Regions from separate parts of the Homo sapiens genome. Here all the other regions are linked to region 3. The links are contacts of gene promoters, found by promoter capture Hi-C in blood cells and fetal thymus (Javierre and others, 2016). All regions are on one chromosome and are shown on one strand. Each heading gives the region's core, a stretch centred on a gene start or on the middle of the fragment in contact. The rest is flanking DNA. Distances are from core to core; before and after follow the strand shown.

What was found. The method cuts DNA at HindIII sites, captures the fragments that hold promoters and counts their contacts. A CHiCAGO score of 5 or more calls a contact.
Region 1: a fragment that was not itself captured here is called in contact with the fragment with the promoter of HSD17B4 in region 3 in 4 of 17 cell types (naive B cells, activated CD4 T cells, total B cells and 1 more); the score reaches 5.8 in naive B cells.
Region 2: a fragment that was not itself captured here is called in contact with the fragment with the promoter of HSD17B4 in region 3 in 1 of 17 cell types (non-activated CD4 T cells); the score reaches 5.0 in non-activated CD4 T cells.
Region 4: a contact is called between a fragment that was not itself captured here and the fragment with the promoter of HSD17B4 in region 3, in 5 of 17 cell types (total B cells, naive B cells, total CD8 T cells and 2 more). The highest score is 14.2, in total B cells.

Annotation. Positions count from the first base shown.
Region 1 is chr5:119,199,073-119,201,772 of GRCh38, forward strand. The region is part of intron 32 of DMXL1 (Dmx like 1); the gene reads left to right. Among named protein-coding and RNA genes, the nearest start is that of MIR5706, 46 kb to the left of the region's middle. The HindIII fragment of the contact is 1,322 bases long and covers 767-2,088 here.
Region 2 is chr5:119,249,359-119,252,058 of GRCh38, forward strand. No RefSeq gene overlaps it. Among named protein-coding and RNA genes, the nearest start is that of MIR5706, 96 kb to the left of the region's middle. The HindIII fragment of the contact is 941 bases long and covers 801-1,741 here.
Region 3 is chr5:119,451,078-119,453,777 of GRCh38, forward strand. It overlaps HSD17B4 (hydroxysteroid 17-beta dehydrogenase 4), which reads left to right and starts at 1,420. Exons shown (of 24, transcript NM_000414.4): 1 at 1,420-1,556. The coding sequence starts at 1,499. RefSeq lists an enhancer at 1,521-1,570. The HindIII fragment of the contact is 7,394 bases long and covers 1-2,700 here.
Region 4 is chr5:119,218,804-119,221,503 of GRCh38, forward strand. DMXL1 (Dmx like 1) reads left to right here. Exons shown (of 44, transcript NM_001290321.3): 36 at 1,669-1,790; 37 at 2,137-2,278. Among named protein-coding and RNA genes, the nearest start is that of MIR5706, 66 kb to the left of the region's middle. The HindIII fragment of the contact is 279 bases long and covers 1,236-1,514 here.

The DNA of each region.
Region 1 (2,700 bases), core at 178-2,677, 250 kb before region 3:
AGACAGGGTTTCACCTTGTTACTCAGGCTGGTCTCAAACTCCTGTGCTCAAGCAGTCCGCCTGTCACAGCCCCCCAAAGTGCTGGGATTTTAGCTGTGAGCCACCATGCCTGGCCCCCAGTAGTTATTTTTGTGATCCTCTTTCTCCTCCCCACTTCCCCCTCAAGTAGACCCCACTGTCTGTTGTTCCCTTCTTTGTGTTCATGAGTTCTCAACATTTAGTTCCCACTTATAAGTGAGAACATACAGTGTTTGGTTTTCTGTTCTTGTGCTAGTTTGCTAAGGATAGTAACCTCCAGCTCCATCCATGTTCCCACAAAAGATGTGATCTCATTCTTTTTTATGGCTACATAGTATTTCTTGTATCTGTACCAGATTTTCTTTATCCAGTCTGTCACTGATGAGCGTTTAGGTTCCATTTCTTTGCTATTGTGAATAATGCTGCAGCGAACACTTGTGTGCATGTGTTTTTTATGGTAGAATGATTTATATTACCCTAGGTATATACCCAGTAATGGGTTTGCTAGGTCAAATGATAGTTCTGTTTTTAGCTCTTTGAGGAATCGCCATACTGCTTTCCACAATGATTGAAGTAATTTACACTCCCACTGACAGTGCGTAAGTGTTCCCTTTTCTCTGCAACCTTCCCAGCATCTGTTATTTTTTATAAATAATCTGTTATTTTTAAATGATAACCATTCTGACTGGTGTGAGATGGTATCTCATTGTGCTTTTGATTTGCTTTTCTCAAATGATCAGTTATATTAAGCTTTTTTCTTAGGCTTATTGGCACGTACGTCTTCTTGTGCAAAGTGTCTGTTCATGTCCTTTGCCCACTTTTTAATGGTGGTGTTTGTTTTTCTTTTTTAAATTGGTTGAAGTTCGTTATAGATGCTGGATATTAGACCTTTATCAGGTACATAGAAAGTATTTTCTCCCATTTCTGTAGGTTGTCTGTTTACTCTGTTGATAGTTTCTTTTGTTTTGCAGAAGCTCTTAAGTTTAATTAGATCCTATTTGTCAATTTTTGCTTTTGTTGAAATTCCTTTTGGGGTCCTTGTCATAAAATCTTTGCCTGTTCCTGTGTCCGGGGTGGTATTGCCTAGGTTGTTTGCTAAAATTTTTGTAGCTTTTGGTTTTACATGTAAGTCTTTAATCCATCTTGAGTTGATTTTTGTGTATGTTGCAAGGAAGGCATTCAGTTTCAATCTTCTGCATTTGGCTAGCCGGTTATCCCAGCACCATTTATAGAATAGGGAGTCTTTTCTTGATTGCTTGTTTTTGTCAGCTTTGTCAAAGATCAGATGGCCAGAGGCGTGTCACCTTACTTCCCAGTTCTCTATTCTGTTCCAGTGGTCAATGTGCCTGTTTTTGTACCAATACTGTTCTGTTTTGGTTACTGTGTTTTTGTAGCATACATCGAAATCAGGTAATGTGATTCCAGTTTTGTTCTTTTTGCTTAGGATCGCCTTGCTATTCAGGCTCTTTTTACGTTCCATATTAATTTTAAAATAGGTTTCTCTAGTTCTGTGAAGAATGTTGGTGGTGGTTTGTTAGGAATAGCATTGAATCTGTAAATTGCTTTGGGCAATATGGCCAGTTTAATGATATTGATTCTTCTTCTCCATGAACATGGGATGTTTTTTCCATTTGTTTGTGTCTTATCTGATTTCTTTGCACAGTGTTTTGTAATTATTGTAGAGATCTTTCACCTCCTGGTTAGCTGTATTCCTAGGTATTTTATTCTTTTTGTGGCAGTTGTGAATGGGGCTGCCTTCCTGATTTGGCTCTCAGCTTAGCTGTTGTTGGTGTATAGGAATGCTAGTGATTTCTTGTACACTGATTTTTGTATCCTGAAACTTTGCTAAGTTGTTTATCAGATCTAGGAGCTTTTGGGCTGAGACATGGGGTTTTCTAGATATAGAATCATGTTATCTACAAACAGGCATAGTTTTACTTCCTCTCTTCCTATGTGGATGCCTTTTATTTCTTCCTCTTTCCTGCTTGCTCTGGCCAGGACTTTCAATACTAGGTTGAATAGGAGTGGTGAGACAAAGCATCCTTGTCTTGTGTTGGTTTTCAAGGAGAAAGCTTCCTGCTTTTGCCCATTCAGTATGATGTTGGCTGTGGGTTTGTCATAGATGGCTCTTACTATTTTGAAGTATGTTCTTTCAATACCTAGCTTATTGAGAGTTTTTACATGGATTGATGTTGAATTTTATCAAAAGCCTTTTCTTCATCTATTGATATAATTATGTGGTTTTTGTCTTTAGTTCTGTTTATGTGATTCATCACATTTGTTGATTTGCATATGTTGAACCAAACTTGCATCCTGGGAATGAAGCCTACTTGATCATGGTGAATTAGCTTTTTGATGTGCTGCTGGGTTTGGTTTGCAAGTATTTTGTTGAGGATTTTTGTGTTGACATTCATCAAGGATATTGGCTTGAAGTTTTGTTTTTTTTGTTGTTACTTCTGCCAGGTTTTGGTATCAGGATAATGTTGACTTCATAGAATTAGGTGTGAAGGAGTTCCACCTCCTCAGTTTTTTGGTATAGTTTTAGTATGAATGGTACCAGCTTTTCTTTGTACATTTCGTAGAATTTGGCTGCGAATCCATCTGGTTCTATGCCTTTTTTGGTTGGTATGCTATTCATTACTGATTGAATTTCAGAGCTCATTATTAGTTTGGTCAGGGAAT
Region 2 (2,700 bases), core at 21-2,520, 200 kb before region 3:
ATATATGTAAAATTTCATTATCCACATTAATGGAGTGGATACATCAAAATACATTTTTTAATTGTGTGTTTCCTAAGAATGTGGCTTTGTGATCATATAAGGATTCACAACATTAACAAATCTTATTTTCTGATATCTAGGATTTTTCTTAACTAAAACCATGGACCAGTCATCTCCATCCTCCTTTCTTGCTCTTTGCCCTTGCCCTCCCTTCTTTGAAAAAAAAAATATTTTTTAGAAGAATTGCAGAAATTTCTCACATTGGTCCCAACAATGGAAACACAATACAAAGACACATTCAAAGAAAAGTCTATACAACCTTAGGGTGGAAGTGATCTTTTTAACAAGATTGGAAACACAGACATATTTTACTTAATAAAAAATTTAAATGTCATATGGCAGGGACCACAGTCAAAGTTAAAACAACAAGTAGACTAGAAGAAATATTTGTATAGTAATAGGAAACATGTCAGTGTCCCTGTATACAAAGAGAAGTTTAAGTTATTGGAGAAGTGGTCACACTGTGAATAAGCAATTCACAGAACAGGACATTGAAAAAGTCAACAAATATAAAGTGTGTTCATCTTCATTATAAGGGTTAATGGATTGTTTTTTAAAAAGTATTACTGTAATACTAGTTTTTATCAGATTGGTTTAAGGTTAAATAGTGACAATATCCATTTTGGTGAAGATGCAAGGAAATTGGCAGAAACATTGCTGGCAAAGTTATCTGGGTGTGAATTAAAATCAAATACACATAACTTTCAGTGAACAACCTTCTGAGAAATTATAAAAATAAAAGCTTCCATGCATAAAAATGTAAGGACACAGATGTTTATTGAAACATATTCTAGAGGCCAGATGTGTTGGCTCACACCTGTAATCTCAGCACTTTAGGAGGCTGAAGCAAGCACAGGTCACTTGAGGTCAGGAGTTTGTGGCCAGCCTGGCCAACATGGTGAAACCCATCTCTACTAAAAATACAAAAATTAGTGGAGTATGGGGTTGTGTGCCTGTAGTCCCAGCTACTCAGGAGGCTGAGGCAGGAGAACCACTTGAACCCAGGAGGTGGAGGTTGCAGTGAGCCGAGATCATGCCACTGCACTCCAGCCTGGGTGACAGAGCAAAAGTCTGTCTCAAAAAATAAAAATGAAAAAAAAAAAAAAAAAAAAACTGGAAATCTAAATGTTAATTAGCAAGTAAATGGTTGAATAAATTATGGTACATACATGTAATATTATAGAATATTCTCTCACCACTAAAAAGAATGTTAGATATGTATATGTTGGCCTGAGAAGAGGCTGATGAGGAAAAAAAATTACAGAGCAAAAGATACAATATCCTAATTGTTTAGACTTTTTAAAATATATATGAACAAAGAAATGCATGTGGAAAAAATACACAAAACTTTTAGCATTGGGAAAAGGAAGAAGGCTGTAATATTTTCCCAAACTCCTTTAAACCTCACTCAGTAAAGTAATACCAAAGATAGTTTTGTTGAATGTGTGTACGTGGGAAAAACAGCTTTATTTTTAAACCAAGTAGTACTTCATGACTTTGGGAGCTGCTCTGTTGAATAAAGTGATCTGGTGTCAGGAACACTCCTCTTTGAATTGTTGAGATATTTTTGGTGAAATTTATTTAAGCTGAATGTTAAAATGTTACCCTTTGGAGCAGGAGTCCCCAGCCCATGGGTGACAACTGGTACCGGGTTGCACAGCAGGAGGTGAGTGTTGGGCAAAGCTTCATGTGTATTTATAGCTGCTCCCCATTGCTTGCATTACCACCTGAGCTCCGCCTCCTGTCAGATCAGTGGAGGCATTCGATTCTCATAGGAGCAGGAACCCTACTGTGAACTGCGCATGCAAGGGATCTAGGTTGTGTGCTCATTATGAGAGTGATGCCTGATGATCTGTCACTGTCTCCCATCACCCCCAGATGGGACCATCCAGTTGTAGGAAAACAAGCTCAAGACTCCCACTGATTTTATGTCATGGTGAGTTGTATAATTATTTCATCATATATTACAATGTAATAATAAACTGCACAATACGTGTAATGCGCTTGAATCATCCTGAAACCATCTGGCTCCATGGAATAACTGTCTTCCCACGAAACCAGTCCCTGGTGCCAAAAGGGTTGGGGATTGCTGCATTGGAGTACCTGGAAAAAGTTGATCATAGATTATTTGAATGTGCCTGTTAGTATTCTAGAAATGTGTGTAGATTTCAGTCCAGTTATTTTCAAAGCTGAATCTGTTTTTGAGCTTTTCAAGATGTTTTTTCTTTCTGCTTGGCTGTCATTGCACATATATGGTCCATTACTCAAGGAACTAACACTGAGAGTGTCACATTGTTTCACAGGGGTCCTTGGAACAAAAACACTTTTAAGTTCTTCCACTGCAAATACAGATGACTAATAGAAACAATTGGTGTGACAACACATTTCACTCCACAGTGGAAAAAATGCTTTATTCATGGACAATCAATTTTCTATGCAATGTACAGGTATGACCTGTGTAACAGAACTCAGCCAGTATGGTGTATCCCTGGACATACGTTAAATAAGTTTTAAAAATCCTTTGGAATCTACTCTTAGCATCATTTCTGAAATTGCAGCATATTTGTTTTCTGAAGCCATACCTTTTTTTTTTTTTTTTCAGTTTATTCTGAACACAAGCAAAGATAATTCCTTAAAATA
Region 3 (2,700 bases), core at 170-2,669:
CATTCCTTTACCAGGGTATTAATATTAATATTCCTTGCTAGGAAAAGAATTTAGTGATATCTTCCCTACTTGCACGTCCGTTTATAGGCTCTCTGCAAGAAGAAAAATATGGCTGTTTTTGCCCAACCCCGCAGGCAGTCAGCCCATATGGTTGACTTCCCTTGTTCCCTAAAAATTGCTGTTATTCTGTTCTTTTTCAAGGTGCACTGATTTCATATTGTTCAAACACACATGTTTTACAATCAATTTGTACAGTTAACACAATTATCACAGTGGTCCTGAGGTGACGTACACCTTCAGCTTACGAAGATAACAGGATTAAGAGATTAAAGTAAAGACAGGCATAAGAAATTATAAAAGTATTATTTGGGAACTGATAAATGTCCGTGAAATCTTCACAATTTATGTTCCTCTGCTGCGGCTCTAGCAGGTCCCTCTGTTTGGGGTCCATGACTTCCCGCAACATCCAATCAATCCTCCATAATGGGCAAAGTGATCTTTCCATAGTGTAAATGTGTTCCCACCACTCTCTGGAGTAATCCTACTTAAAACCGTTTTCAGCACAAAATTCAAACATCTAAACATGATCTTGCTGGCTTTGCTTTTGTGGCTTTACCCTCTTTCTCCCCAAACCTAGCTAGTGTTTGTGCTGCCTGTAATGCCCTTCTTTCTTTGCAGGGGTCGCCACTTTAGGTCCTGGTCCTCCTTCAGAAAGTTTTTCCTCTTTCTCCCCAGCGGGGATAGGGTCTGTTTATTTTGACACCATTAGCTCACTTACACACATTGGTCACAAGTCTAGGCTGCACCGTTATTGAAAGTTTACCATCTGACTCTGAGTAGCTTGAGGATCCTATCAAAACTCAGGAGATGCTCAGTAAATGTTGATTGAACTATGACTGTTCTCAACATACAAACGCAAGATCATTTAGGAACACTTGTCAAAATGTTTTTGCCCCTTGAGATTCTATTTTGGGAGGTAAGCAGTGGGGGTCCAGGACTCTGCATTTTGACAGTCCCCTGATGTTTGCATGTAGAAGTGCAGGGATTATTACACTGACAAATCTTTACCATCCCTAAGGGGGACTTTCCTTCCCAGGGGCTATCTCTGGAAGCCCCTCAAGGATAGGGGCCGCATGCTGTTTCTCTAGGTCAGCAACTAAACCCAGAAAACGTTTATTGAGTGAATGATGAAACGACAGGTGAATAGATGAACGCAAGGTGTCGAGTTAACTATTCTTCTACACAAGTCCTAGCAGCTCCCATTGCTTCCAGCCGCAGAAATGGCCCCTGGAAGGCAAGTCTTCCAGCGAGTGGAGTCACTCTTAACTACATTTCCCAGGATTCCAAGGGAGCCGCGCGCTCTGCGCTCATCTTCCTACCAGAAATCGGCAAGTCACTGACCCTCGTCCCGCCCCCGCCATTCCCCGCCTCCTCCTGTCCCGCAGTCGGCGTCCAGCGGCTCTGCTTGTTCGTGTGTGTGTCGTTGCAGGCCTTATTCATGGGCTCACCGCTGAGGTTCGACGGGCGGGTGGTACTGGTCACCGGCGCGGGGGCAGGTGAGCATGCGAAGGTTGGAGGCCGCGCCCCTTGCTGAGGCGCAGCTGGCTGCTCTTTTCGGGCCGGCATACGCGCGCAGCCGCAGCTGAGGTCACCCCGCTGAGGTGGTGGGGAGGGGAATGGTTATTCTTGAGGCACCGCATCTCTTGAGGAGGAAAGAGCCGGAAACACCTGGTCTCTCAAGCAGGTACAGCCCGCTTCTCCCCAGCACCCCGGTGTGGGCTTCCCAAGGTCCTGCCTGAGAGGAGAGGCCAGGCTGGGCTGCTGATTGCAAAACTGGGTGAAAGTTCTCCCTGACCCTTATCTGTGGGCATCGATTGTTACTCTTCCTGCAATTAACTCTCTTAGATCTTTGCCTAGTCTTTTAAAGGACTGAAAAGCCGCGAGGGGCGGGGGCTGGAATTCGCCCCCTGAAGCGCAGAGATGTCAGCTCCTGAAAAGTCATTCGGTCGTTCAGTGTTTGTTTCCCTCTGTCGTAAGATTTTAAGTTCGTGAGAGGACCTTCTTTAAAGAGGGCGTCTGATAAGAGCCCTTCCCCGTTGGAGTTTGTATGCTTAGCAAGTCACAATCTGTTCTCGAAATCCACTGGAGTCTTGGCAGAGGTTGTAAGCTCAAATGCGCACAGGGGTCAGGCGTATGATGGAGAAAGAAAATGGGAGTAGGATGGGCACATCTGAGGAACTGGAGAGCAGAGAATTCCGAAGTGGACCGGCCAGTGGGAAAGTTGCCTGTATTTCAGGAGCGGCAAAATGGAAAATTGTTATGTGAAATAGCCCCATTTTTTAAAGTACAAAAAATTAAAACAAACCATTCATACCAACATAGATGCTGTGCAGTGAGATTTTACATTAGTTTCTCACCAGTGGGTGACCTCTGTAACCTCCAAGTGCAGGGATCTTGACATTATGCACCTTTGATTCTCCACTGGTAGTACCTTATACCTGGAAAGGCCCTAATGCATGAATTATTTGAGTTATATATTAAACGTTACAAACTGGAATTCTGTCAATTAATTCCTATGTACTTTCATATCTGTATTGATAAAGTGGCTTCTTATGCTGCCTTTCAGAAAATGCTTTCAGTGTTGATGAATAGCCAAGTATTTTATACCCATAGCTGTCTGGTTATCTCTGCATGGGCATG
Region 4 (2,700 bases), core at 125-2,624, 230 kb before region 3:
AATACCTCTTGCTTTAAGTTGCATTTTTTTAAATGCCATTGAGATTTTTTTTGCCATTTGTTTAGTTGGGAACTACCTGTGTCAAAAACTATGAAGGGTCTCAGATTTTACCTTAAATTAAAACTAACAGTTAGCTTTCTGTTTCTGTTGCCACAGAAACAGTTCTGTTTGAGGCAGGCAGTGGATTGTTTAAACAGTCCATTTAATTGATCCATTAAACATTTTAGTGGATGCTGTTAGAAGACATACGACTCTTGGATCAGAGACAAAGGACAGTTTATGTCTAACAGCAAAAGCAATAACCAGAAAATCAGCACTTTACACTGGTTGCCTGAGCCACAATTTCCAGAGAATGACGGGAAGAGGGCCAGATGATACCTACCTTACCTACACACATAGTAGGTTATATTACAGGAGAGGATCTCTGAGTTTAGGGGACCCAAATCTTTTATAATCGATAGTAAGCATACTTGCCCTTTGCTCTGGAGGGAGAGACGATAGTTATACAAACATCCTGGCAATTATACTGCAGAAAAAAGGGCAGACATGACTCACTTATAAAACATGCAGAATTTGGGATACCCATGGAGAATAACCACCCAATAATCTAGCTATATCATTTTTTCATTTATTTCTAAGGTCTCAGTTTTTTCTTAATAGTTTGTGTTAAAATCTAACATAACAGTAATGGTAATCCTATTTTCTCTTTGCTGTCAATATCTTCCTGTTTTCTGTTTCAAAGATACACATTTAATTAATTAATTAATTTATTTATTTATTTATTTATTGAGACAGGGTATCATGCCTGGTGCCCAGTGCTGTGGTGCAATGTCAGCTCACTGCAGCCTCGACCTCCTGGGCTCAAGCAATCGTTTCACCTCATTCTCCCAAGTAGCTGGGACTGCAGGTGCATGCCACCATGCCCAACTAATTTTTGTATTTTTTGTAGAGACAGTGTTTTGCCATGTTGCCCAGGCTACTATCGAACTCCTGAGCTCAAGCTGTCTGCCTGCTTCAGCCTCCTAAAGTGCTAGGATTATAGACGTGAGCCACTGCCCCCAGCCAAGATGTACATTTTTGATTCATAGGCATTTAAAATTTCATGTCATTTAACCTTAGCAACTTTTCATTTGTGATCTTTTTCTGGCATACTTCTCCCACTATATTTCTGCCCCTACACCTTTTTTCTGTGACCCTTTCCCACTTCTTTTTTTTTTTTTTGCCTAAGATTGAAAAGCTTTAGGAGAAAGTTTGTTTTATTTAAATAATTAATAATTATGTTTTTAGTTTGGAGTTCCTTATTGCCCTCACCTTTCTGTACCCTACAGGTTCCTATCTTTTTCAGCATCTTCCTCCACATTTCTGAATTGTGCATACCTTAGAGCGATCATAGCATTCTAGCAGTCTAGAAAAACAGTACTGGGAGAGGAAATAAAATGCTGCATGTATTGCCATTTATACTGGCTTTCTATTGGATGTACTTTTCATAGAACATAAACGTATCTCCAAACTGAAGCTTATTATTTCACTAAAAGTAAGAATGCTGTATATCCTGTACTTTAGTTATCACTGCTAGAGGTTATTTCAAAACTACCATTTTCAAAAGCAGCTCATATACTATCTCTTTTGCCTATTGCTTTTAAAATTACCATTTGACTTATTTTTCAGGCAAATAGAAACTGCATAGCAATCGCTTCCAGTCATGATGTTCAAGAACTGGATGTTTCTGGAATTCTGGCCACACAGGTCTACACTTGGGTAGATGATGATATAGAAGTGGAAACCAAAGGGTACCTTCATAGTTTGTTTCTATTTAGTAATGTTGCAATATGAGTGACTATATTTACTGAACTAAAACTTTCAAAAGATTCTTTAAAGCAATGTATAGATTGTAAGCAGAGTAGAAGCTGATGTGCTAAATGAGGGGTGGCAAGAGCTTTAAATAAGGGAACTGAGAGAAGAGTAAGTGAAGGGAACAGAAATTGTTGAGGTATGAGGTCATTGTGTGTGAGTTACAAATAAGAGCTGAAGAAAATTAATTTTAAAGGGAACTATAAATTCAAATTTTAGACCTTTCAAGTGTAAAAAAGAAAGAAATGATGAGTTGTTTTTATTCTGGTTGACATTCCTTTATAGATCAGAAGATTTCTTGGTTATACATGCTCGTGATGATTTAACAGCTGTTCAAGGTACAACTCCATATACACATAGCAATCCTGGCACTCCAATCAACATGCCATGGCTTGGTAGTACACAGACTGGCAGAGGAGCATCTGTGGTATGTAAAGTTAAAAATAAATTTAAGTTATATGTAACTTTTATTTTTCCCTCTAGGTTAATGGATAAAGGATGATTTAAAACATTTTTCTTAATTCCTAAAGTTTTAGTAAGTCTTACATGTTGGAAATTGTAAATTTTGATAATGAAGACTAGTATGTTTTCATTTGAAAGGGTAATAATAAATTGTTTTAAAAATATACTTTGCTTGAAAACCAAAGAGCTATATTTTAATTAAGAATTATTTGAAACATGGTTCAGATCAGGCTTCAGCAAGGTGTTCCCCATAGATCAAATATTACCCATGACCTGTTTTTATATAGCTAATATGCTAAGAATGGTGTATACATTTTAGTGAAATGGTTTATACATTGTTTTTTCAATAGTTGAAAAAACAAACATAGTATTTTTTGGCACATGAAA